2 separate regions of the Homo sapiens genome follow, and region 1 is linked to region 2. Evidence: promoter capture Hi-C in 16 types of primary human blood cells and fetal thymus (Javierre and others, 2016). All regions are on one chromosome and are shown on one strand. The core of a region is centred on a gene start or on the middle of the fragment in contact, and the rest is flanking DNA. Distances in the headings are between cores, read along the strand shown. Region 1 has its middle 37 kb from the start of MIR4536-2. Region 2 holds the start of RRAGB (Ras related GTP binding B).

Evidence for each region. Contacts are between HindIII fragments. The CHiCAGO score rates a contact against its expected background, and 5 or more counts as called.
Region 1: a contact is called between a fragment that was not itself captured here and the fragment with the promoter of RRAGB in region 2, in 1 of 17 cell types (activated CD4 T cells). The highest score is 5.8, in activated CD4 T cells.

Annotation. Positions count from the first base shown.
Region 1 is chrX:55,411,292-55,416,876 of GRCh38, forward strand. No RefSeq gene overlaps it. Among named protein-coding and RNA genes, the nearest start is that of MIR4536-2, 37 kb to the right of the region's middle. The HindIII fragment of the contact is 740 bases long and covers 2,226-2,965 here.
Region 2 is chrX:55,714,239-55,720,118 of GRCh38, forward strand. RRAGB (Ras related GTP binding B) reads left to right here and starts at 3,511. Exons shown (of 10, transcript NM_006064.5): 1 at 3,511-4,181; 2 at 5,076-5,109. The coding sequence starts at 4,090. RefSeq lists enhancers at 3,640-3,839, 4,000-4,129. The HindIII fragment of the contact is 6,209 bases long and covers 1,226-5,880 here.

The sequences.
Region 1 (5,585 bases), core at 1,346-3,845, 300 kb before region 2:
AATATGTTGTAGGTTTTCCAAGCCCCACATGAAACCCTCATTCTCTAGTTTTTTTCTTTTAATTTTTTTTTGTAACCTCTCATTAGCCCTAACTTCTTCTAAGGCAGCTGCTATGTTAAACACTCGCCTCTGATGTTTTTGACAAATGCCTTGGCAATAGAGTTTTTCAGAGTGATCTCTGAGTTTTGTCAAATAAATATAAGCCTTGAGCATGAAGCTTTTCAGTGAGTTTCCAGACAAGTCAAATTGTAGTAATTCTCTGGGTGAAGCTTTTGGGGATCTCCAAATGCATCCTCCACTCCCAACCCACATTTGCTGCTAGGTTGCTGGTTTTCACAGGTACTGTAGCACTGGGGCTATTACTTTCCAAGGATACCATGAGAGTAAAAAGTGGGGGATATAATAAGGGCAAGTTAAAACTCCATGAAGTTCACATTTCTTGTTGAGTTTCAACATTTTTCTTGAATAAACACTTCTCAGTTATTACAAATATTTAGCTAATTTCCAGTTTTGAAAATTTTGTTTGACATATTTTACCAGTGTTCTTGTAGCTGTTATGGGAAGATTTTTTCTTGTCATTTCAGATGGCCCTGTCTTTTCTAATTTAAGTGGAGATTTTCTTGGTTCCAGGTATTGTAAATGATTTTTTATTGAAACCTGGGCATTTTGGGTGCTATGACGCTATGGACCTTATTTAAATATTTTTTCTCCCATGCTGTCAGGAAAAGAGGGGTGCTTCCTCATTTCTTCCATATGGGAGTGGAATTCCAGATTCTCCACTTGACCTCTATTAATATCCAGTGGTAGAGGCTCATTCTTACTGCCGAGTGTAGGTAGGCAGTTGATGCTCTTTCTTGTGAAGAAATAGATAGTTTTTATAGTCCTACATATTAGTAATAACTTTCCTAGAAAGGACACTCCAGGCCCAGAATTCTACCAAACATTTAAGGAAGTAATAACACCAATTTTCCACAATCTACTCCAATAAAAGAACAAGAGGAAACACTTTCCTACCATTCTGTAAAGTGAGCACTACTCTGATACAAAAATAAAACAAAACGAAGTTTACAAGAAGACATCAATATATATTGTGAATATAGATACAAAAATCTTTACTAATATTTTAGCAAATCATATATAGATGTGTGCATGTGTATATATATATATGCTATATATATTATATATATACACATACACACACAAATCATATGTTATGTTTATTTTATTTATTTGAGACAAGGTCTTGCTTTGTCACCCAGGCTGGAATGCAGTGGCATGAGCACAGCTCACTGCAGCCTCAACCTTCTGGGGTCAAGTGATCCTCCTGCCTCCACCTTCTGAACAGCTAAGACTACAGACATGTATCACCATGCCCAGCTAATTGCTTTAAAATTTTTGGTAAGATGGGGTTTCACTTTGTTGCCCAGACTCGTCTTGAACTCCTTGGCTCAAACAATCTTCCTTCCTTGGCCTCCCAAAGTGCTGGGATTACAGGCATGAGCCACTGCACCTGGCCTAATAATATTGTAGGTTATAACCACATGGGGTTTATCCCAGGAATGCAAGGTTCATTTAATATTTGAAAACTGATCAGTAGCATTCATCATATTAACAGTCTAAAAAGTACAGTCTATATGATCATCTCATTTACTGCAGAAAACAACATTATACAAAATCCAAATGTTCATGATAAAACCTCTCGACAAACTAGGAATAGAACAAACTTCTTCCTGGTAAAGGGCAACTACAAAATACCTATAAGTACCATCAGACAGTGCTTCCCCTCAAGATTGAGAGTAAGCCAAGGAAATCTTTTCTCAAAACTCCCATTTGAATTTTTACCATAGATGCTAACTAATGTAATAAGTCAAGTAAAAAAGGGAATACAGATTTCTTTTAAATAGAAAAACTATTTTTCTACTTTTAACATATTTTAGACAACATGATTGTGTATGTATTTAAAAAAGATACTAGAACTAAAAATTAGTTTAGCAGGGTTGCAGAATACAAGGTCAATATGCATAACTCAATTGTATTTCTATATACCAGCAACTATCTGAAAGTTAATAATATAAAAATACCATTTACAACAGCATCACAAAACCAGAAATACTTTGGGGTAAGTTTGATAAAATATGTACTCTGAGAACAAAACAACATTGTTTAGAGACCTAATTAAAGAAGACCTAAATTGATTTGAGAGTCATATGGTTTTCTTGCTAGGAAGCTTTTTTTGTAGCTATTGACAAGATGATTCTAAATTTTATGCACAGAAATTATAAAACATTAGTGAGATATATAAAAGAAAAACTAAGTAGGTAGAGAAATATACTACATTCACTGGAAGGCTCAATGTTGTTAAGATCATTTATTCCCAAATTTATCTACACTGTCAACACAACCCAGGTGAAAATATTAGCAGGTTATTTTGTTGAAGTTTACAAGACTGCTAAAATTTGTTTGTAAATTATATGGATCTCTAACTGACAAAATAATTTTGAAAAAAAGAACAAACTTGAAAGCCTTAAACTACCAGATTTCAAGACTTATTATAAAGCTACAATCAAGACAGTGTGATACTGATATAAAGAAAGACATATAGAACAGTGGAACAGAAAAGAAAGTTGAGAACTAGATCTAGAAATAGTAAGATCAGATCAAATTATCAACCATGCAAATAAAAGAATTACTTGGGGCAGGGAGTTAGAGTCAGTGCTATAAAAGCACAGTCAAGTTGTACATTCCCAAAGTACTTTGGTATGTTTATTTTGCACATAAAATTGACAAATAAATTTAATCTACTTGTTTCTATGCAATATGTAGTCCTAATTTGCAACATGTGTTTTTAAAGAATCTTCAATTATGGCTTTAGTAGATATCCAGCCTAAGACAGTGAAGAGTGATACAAACTAATTCAAATTAATGATTTAAATCAATTCAAAGTATTGGCAATAATATTAAAATAAGCTTAGTTACAGAAGTATCTGACAACTGTTATATCTCAAAATTTTGCTGAGATTTAGCATTTTCTCAAGAGATTAATTGCCTAAATGGTAATATTTACATCAAGTTAAAGATGTCAGTTTAGGCTTCCCCAATGAGAGTTAAACGCCAACTGAATAATTTTGAATCCTCTCTGTCTGGAATTGTGCTTAGCTAGTCAAACCAAAAAAGATTATGTTTCACTTTACATATAATTCAAATTGATTATGACTCTGGCTGATGAGCACCATTTCAATACCATCTCACTTGTATATATGATAATTTCAGATAAGAAATTATAATTTCTAAACACTATTCTAACTTTCTGAGATTAAGACTAATGAATGTGAACAGCATTTTTATTTTCCACTAACTGTAATTTGGGGTCTCCATTGGGTCACTTGGGTTATAATAATTGCATCTGATTTGCCACAATTGTGTAATCTTAAAACATCTAAAATTTAAAAAATAGACAACAGAGTGAGTATCCTTAAAATGGGGAGTTGCTGTCCACCAGTTATATAGTATCAGTTACGCAAGATGAATACATTCTTAACATCTGCTGTACGACATTGTGCCTATAGTTAACAATACTCTATTGTGCACTTAAAATGTGTCAAGGGGATAATCTCATGTTTAGTGTTCTTAACACACACACAGACACACAGGCACACACACGGACACACACACACACACACACACACACACACACACACACACACGAGAGGGGGGAAAAAGCATCTGTAACACCAAGAATGAGTCTCCAAAAGAGAATCATCCTTTGTTTAGAGAGAAAAATGCTTTATGTAACTTCTTACTAACTGGAATTGTCCTATACCCAGTGATATATAAATTATGACCTGAATATTTAGAAAAATTCTGATATCCAATATTCTTCCTCCTGTCCATACACAAGGTAGAAAATTACCTGGAAATTTTATTAGTATGTCTCTCACATTCAGAGATAGCATAAAAATCTTTGGCAGTTCATATGTCCTAACTTTAGATTTACATTATATGTTTACTAGAGTTAGCACTGAAGAACAAGTTAATTTACATCATCACAAAGATATCTTTGATATCTGTCTCAGCTTCTTTGGTAGAAATTGACTTCTCATTAAACTTGCCTGATAAAATACAGGATACCTTGTTAAATTGAATTTTAGCTATATGGTGAATATTTTAGCATAATTATATCCTGATTATCACAAGAAGCTTATTTATACTATAAAATAGTTGTTTATCTCTGTCAATTTGGGTTGATGACTTGTGAAGGATTAAGATGATGAATATAATGATTGAGTGGGTTCTACTTACCACTCTCTACTACCTAACACATTTAGCCTGTGATATAATTGTGATCATGTCTACAATGAGATGAAGTAAACAGGAATATGTGTTTGAATAAGTTAACAAGAATGAAATTCAGAGAAATAAAGAAATTAAAAATATGAAAGAGAAATTAAAGGATATGGAGAATATGGTATGCAGGTTGTACACTCATCAAATTGTAATGTCAGAAATAGATAACAGAAAGAATAAGAAATAGGTGATATTAAAAATATAAAGGCTGAGAATATTTCAGAAATTATGAAAGAAATAAATCCTCAGATTCAGGAAGTCTAGTAAACCCCACATAGAATATATAAAACTAAATTCACACCTAGACTTATTATAATAAAACTACAGAAACCCAAAAACAAAGATATGTTCTAAGCAGCAAAGAATATGTAATTATCTACAAAAGAATTACATTTAACCTCTTAGATGACATCTCAATAGGAAGAGTAAAATCTAGAAGACACTATAACATCTACAAAGTGATTTAAAAAAATAAGGATTTGGGACAAGATGGCTGACTAGAAGCAGCTAAGGTGCATGCCTCTCACGGAGAGAAACAAAAGGGGCAAGTAAATATAGCACCTTCAACTGAAAAAACCAGGTACTCACATTGGGACTAATCAAGGAAACAACTCGACCCACAGAGAAAGGAGAAGAGCAAGACAGGACAAGAGCCCACCTGGGAGTGACACAGAGCCAGGAGAACCTCCCCAACCCAGGGAAGCAGTGAGTGAATGATTGACCCCAGGAAACCATGCTTCTGCCACTGATCTTTACAACCCTTTGGTTGGGAGACCCTCTTATGAAGACAACCCACCAGGGCCTTCAGGCTGACACGCAGTGTGAAATCTCGGCAGAGTAGCCACTCAGGCTTGCATGGAGGCCCAGGAGCTTTACATACTCCAGCTCCGGGCTTCCTGGCAAAAGTGACTGCAACTCAGGCAAGGCAGGGGGTTGAACCTCCGCACATATCTCTAGGAAGGGGGCTGAGTAGCAATGGTCTGTGGGCCCCACTTCCACTAAGCCTCCCAGGATAAGACCCACTGGCTTGGAATTCCAGCCAGTGTCACCCATACCTGGGACAGAGTTCCCAGGGGGAGGGGCGGGCCACCATCTTTGTTGTTTGGGTAACTCAGCCATTCCAGCCTGCAGGCTTTGGAGAGTCCAACCAGGAGCAGAAGGGATCCCTAAGCACAGCACAGCTGCTCTACCAAAACATGGCCAAACTGCTTCTTTCATCAGGTCTCTGATCCATTCCTCCT
Region 2 (5,880 bases), core at 2,261-4,760:
TGGCACTTTGAGGCAACTATCAGCAGTTCCTTATGAAGCTTGTGAGGTAGTGAATGTGGGTAGAGAAATATAGCTCGTGAGTTGCTATAGGCCAGATCTTGAAGGTCCTTGTATTGACACACTTTTTCCTTAAGTTATGGGAGGATTTTAAAGTAGAGAAGTAGTCTCCTCCGATTTGTGGTTTAAAAGATTACTCAAGTTGAGGTTGCAGTGAGCCATGATTGTGCCACTGTACTCCAGCTTGGGTCAGAGAGCAAAACCCTGTCTCAAAAACAACAAGAACAACAACAACTACAACGACGATAAAAAGAAATTTGATCGCACCTGTAATCCCAGCACCTTGGGAGGCCAAGGTGGGCAGATCCCTTGAGGCCAGGAGTTTGAGTCTGGCAACAAAGTGAGACCCAGTCTCAACAAAAACTAGTTAATTAATTAATTAAAATAAAGGATCACTTGAGCAGCTTTTAGAGAGGATGGATGGTTTGAAGGAGGGGGAAAAGGATACCAGCAGCAACAGGGAGACAGTATTTTTTTTTTGCTTGCTTTGTCGCCCAGGTTGGAGTGCAGTGGTGCGATCTTGGCTCACTGCAACCTCCGCCTCCTGAGTTCAAGCAATTCTCCTGCCTCAGCCTCCCGAGTAGCTGGGATTATAGGCGCGTGCCACCACACCTGGCTAATTTTTGTAGTTTTAGTACAGATGAGGTTTCACTATGTTGGCCAGGCTGGTATCGAACTCCTGACCTCAGGTGATTCGCCCACTTTGGCCTCCCAAAGTGCTGGGATTACAGGTGTAAGCCACTGCACCTGGCCGAGACAGTACATTTTTATAAAAGAGTGGTTTAAGGGGCCAATTTGGCTGGTGAAGCCCGGGGGCAGTAGGTGTTGGAAGACATATTTGAAAGCTGCCTTTAGAAAGCAAGCACATATTAATTACGTCAAATGTTTTGGGGGATGAGATGACTAATGAAGATCAACTCACTCACTCCCAACCCCTTTGGAGCTGCCACTGTGGGAAAATCACTTAGTAGGCTATTGTGGATATCTAGGCCAGAGATTATGATAGCTGGAACAAAAAGAGTGGCAGTAAGAATAAGAGCAGGCAGGTAGTAGAAAATAGACTGATCATGACCTGGTCTCATTGACACGTATGGAGGGCAGTGAATCTAAGGTGACTTCCTGGTTTGGGACTCAGGATCTTTCATCAGACAAGGAAAGCCAGAATGGAAGCTTGTTTGGGGGTAGTTGGTTGGAAGGAGACAAAAGATTAGCTAGTGATAGAGCGAAGGATCACTAATCAGAGTAGAATAACTTTTTTCTTGAGGCAAGGCAGTTGTGGAGAAAAGGAATCACACAGGACCTCAAGTGGAAAGTGTGGGAGCAGACAGTGTAACTGCCCAACGGGTTCACCTTGCCTGCTGCCTAGACAGAGCTGATTTATCAAGACAGGGGAATTGCAATGGAGAAAGAGTAATTCATGCAGAGCCAGCTGTGGGTGAGACTGCAGTTTTATTACTCAAATCAGTTTCGGGGGATTGAAATTTTTAACAATAATTTGGTGGGTAGGGGCTTGGGAAGTGGGGAGTGTTGACTGGTCAAGTTGGATATGGAATCATAGGGGGCTCTAAGTGAGTTTTTCTTGCTATCTTCTGTTCCTGGGTGGGATCGCAGAACTGGCTGGGCCAGATTACTGGTCTGGGTGCTGTAAGTGAAACGAGGGAAGTTCCCCTATCCCCCTTGCAGGGCATGCCACAGCGGGAGTGGCTCACTGCTTCACAACCTCTAGGGGGAGCATGCAGAGGGGCAGGCTGTGGGGCTCCGACCCCATGGCAACCTCTAGGGGTGAATATAACATTTGGGTGGGAAGGCAGGAGTGCCTATCCTCACCTAGGTCCATGGGCACAGGCCCCAGGGTGGAGCCCTAGCCACGGACCCGCCTTTCTCTGCCCAGCACTTTCCTGCCCCGCTCCTGTATCATAAGCTGGTGCATCTGAATGCAGGGTCTGCAAAACATATCAAACAGTGATCTTAGGTTTTAAAACAGTGATGTTATTCCTGGGAGCAATTTGGGGAGGTTCAGACTCTTGCAGCTGGAGGCTGCATGGCCCCTGAATTGTAATTTCTAATCTTGTAATCTTGTGGCTAATTTGTTAGTCCTGCAAAGGCCGACTGGTTCCCAGGTAAGAAGGTTTTTTTGTTTTTTTGTTTTTTTTTAGTGGGGGGCAGCGGGAGGGAGAAAGGGCTATTATCAATTTTGTATCAGAGTTAAACTATAAACTAAATTCCTTCCCAAGGTTAGTTCGGCCTACGCCCAGGAATGAACAAGGACACCTTAAAGGTTAGATGTAAGATGGAGTCGGTGAGGTCTGATCTCTTTCACTGTCATAATTTCCTCAGTTACAGTTTTTGCAAAGGCAGTTTCAATAATAGTACTCTGTTTCCTGCAGTTTCTCTTCCTTCCTTCCCTTTTTTTCTTATCAAAGTAATATATGTACACACTTACGTGTAAATAATACATGTAGTATATCATATATTAATTATAAATAATATAATTAAACTACACATTTATTTAAAATAACATATTTATAACATATTATTTAAGTATTAGTTGATTATATTAAATATAATTAAATGTCATATTAATCTTATTATTATATATCATTTATACATTATAGAAATATATATAGCACAGAAGGGCTTCAGATAAAAAATAATAGTCCCCTGACATATCACGTCCTATCCCCTACCCCATTCTCCAGAAGGAACATCTTTGAACCCCTCTGGGCATTTTTCCTGGTGTGCATATCCCTACCAGTAGTCTTTCTGTTCTCAATTCTAGACTTCACTTATTTACAGATGGGGTCTCGCTATGTTGGCCAGGTTGGTCTTGAACTCCTGGCCTCAAGTGATCCTCCCTCCCCAGCCTCCCAAAGTGCTGGGATTAAAGGCATGACCCACCACTCCCAGCCCTAGACTTTATTTATTGACTTCTTACTATGGTACTTCCTTCACTTCCTGTTTTAAACAAGTGGGAAGATGAATGTGTGTGTTAAAATTCCTGATGAATCCCTGGTTTCAGCAATAACGATAATTTATACAGTATTTGCTATGTGGAAGACACAGTTCTAAGCGCTTTGGATGTATTAATCATTTAATTACAAACTCGATTGCAAGAATTAACAATAAAAAGCAGGAAGGCAAAGACAATGCTCGGTCTTCCCAGTCAAAAACCATTACCGGTAACCAGCAGTAAAAAAGAGAAGCTCAGAGGCACTGAAATTGCAACCGGCTCCTTTAATTCTCCATAGCGGATGGGTGGGGCCAGGCCCACCCACATTAGAGAGGCTGAAGGCTCCCAGCGCCCTACCCCGCCCGAGGGGCGGAGCCTGAGCCAAGGCCACGTGATGATGACAGACGGCACTCTGGCTTTCCTGGAGCTGTCTCTATGGTATTCTTCCCAGCCCACCCGTCCCTTTGGTAGCGGCAGTCACGTGACAGACTCCGGGGTAAGGCAGATGCCCACGTGATCCTGGCCTGCAGTTGGGTGGCTGCGGTGAGATACCTGGGTTCCTGAAGGGCGGGTGGTTAGGTCGTAACTACTGCCCCCGCCGGCTGACTCTCCGAGCGGCCGGGCTCGGAAGCCACGAGCCAGCTGAGGCGTTCTCCGCTTAGTGCCTACGGCATGGGTCAGCTCTTTCTGCCACCTCCGCCTTCGCGGTCCTCACCTCTTTGCGGGTGAAGTTACCTTTGGGTTTCCAGACCTTGGGGGCCTGAGGCCCAAACTCGGGACGAACCCCTAACCCACCTCTCTTTTCCTGTCATTCTCCAACTCTTACTTTGTACCACGGAATCACTTGGCCTTAAAGCTAGCCAGCTCGGCCGTGCCTTGAGGCCAGGTTCGAGAGATAAAGGTAACCGTGGGGAAAGCGGCCCCCCAGTGGACAAAGGCGGAGGCAAGAATAGAGCAGGCCTGAGGGCCATAGGCGATGAGAATAGGCAGTTGAGGGGTGAAAAAGAAAACAAACAAACAACAACAACAAACCCTGAAGAGTACTGAAGATTTAGAAGGGACTGGAAAGGACTTGTTGCGCAATGGAAGAATCTGACTCTGAGAAAACGACGGAGAAAGAAAATCTGGGGCCGAGAATGGATCCACCACTAGGGGAACCGGAAGGATCGCTTGGGTGGGTGAAGGGTATTTGTGAAACCTGGAAGTGGGGGTGTTCAAATTGAAGAGAGTATTGTGAATTAGAACACTTCTCCCCACCCCGCACCATGATAAATTGCTTTGATTTACCAGTAATGTTGATTGGGATTATGCTTTGGACGACAGGATAAACTGGAAAGCGAATTGGTGCTAACTGATCAGAAACAACCCTTGGGAAGGGGCTGATATTCCTGGTGGTGGTGCTGGGGGAGTGTTCTAATTAAAGCAGTTATGAGTTGCTTTGAATTATCAGTAAAGGAGATTTGCTGTCACCAGGTTGGGGATGGAAAGACTAGAAAGAAGATTTGCATTTCCAGGTCAGAGCTTGAGGGTGTTTTCTGTGCCAATTTGTACCTGAATTTGAGACTTACATCTACTTTGTGTCTGTGATGAGTGAAATAGGGCTTGGAAGGACAGCTGAAGGACTAAAAAGATACTTCCAGATTTTAAAATTAGGAGGCTGAATGTTTTTTATACATAGAAGATATTCAATACTCAGTCCTCAAGTAGAGGATATCAATATATTCTGTTTTTTTAGAAATAGAAGATATTGTTTGATTAAAGCAGCTGTGTTGCTTTGATTAAGATGATGAAAAATTGAATCTTGAATTTTAATGGCTCATTTGTATTCCTAAATAAATCTTCCTAGGAGTTCTCTCTTGAACTTCTAATTAGGAGATAGAGAGTATACACACAGTTTTATAATTTAGGAAAATGGGACCTCTATTCATCTGAGGTCCCACACACACAGCTGTACTCAGCCGTTGTACTAAACATGCTCTTTTGTACCTCCATGTTTATTTATACTTCATTAATTTCAATTTCTAAGGGAATTGGATCATGGAAACTGTTTTTTGGTTTATATCTGCAGGTGGGTGCTACCAAATACAGCCATGAAGAAAAAGGTAAGACGTGTTAGATACGTCAAAACCATGAAGGTAAAGGTAAGAAGTTGATATTCAGGAACTTTGTGACATATATACACCATCTTTTCTGGACTATTGCAGGAGCCTTCTGTGTGGTCTGTCTGACTCTCTTCTCCTTGTATGCTATCAGATTTAATTTTTCTAATATGAAAATCCGACTGAGTCATCTACATACTTAAGAACCTTTAGTAACTTCTTTAAGCCCATGGAATAAAATCCAAATGATTTCATGGCCCTTTAAAATCTGTTCCTGACCAAACCCTGTGCCACACTTATGCACCCTATCACAGCCCTACAGAATTTATTGTTCTCCAGATTTACAAATTAATTTGCACTTTGTGTAAGCCATATACACACACCATACAGGCCTCTGTCTGCACATTTATTTTTAACCTAACTCAAGTGTTACCACTATAAGGTCTTATTGAGTTCTTCAGATAGAATTGGACACACCTTCCTTTGTGCTCTCATAGTACTGTGCCCTACGTTGGGGTTTAGGCAGAATTGCTAAGAGTGCAGCTCAAGCTAATTTCTTAACCTTTTGGGGCTTCAGTTTCCTCATTTGTAAAATGGTAGTAATAATATTAACTGTATCGTAAGATTGTTGTGACGTTTAAATTAGTAAATGCCTGTAGAACACTTAGATCAGTACCTAACATGATTAGCCTTGGTAAGTCTTTCATAGGCAATTGAAAGAGGTACACTGTATAAATTAATAACCGAAGGAAATGTACCATATTTAGCCTTAGC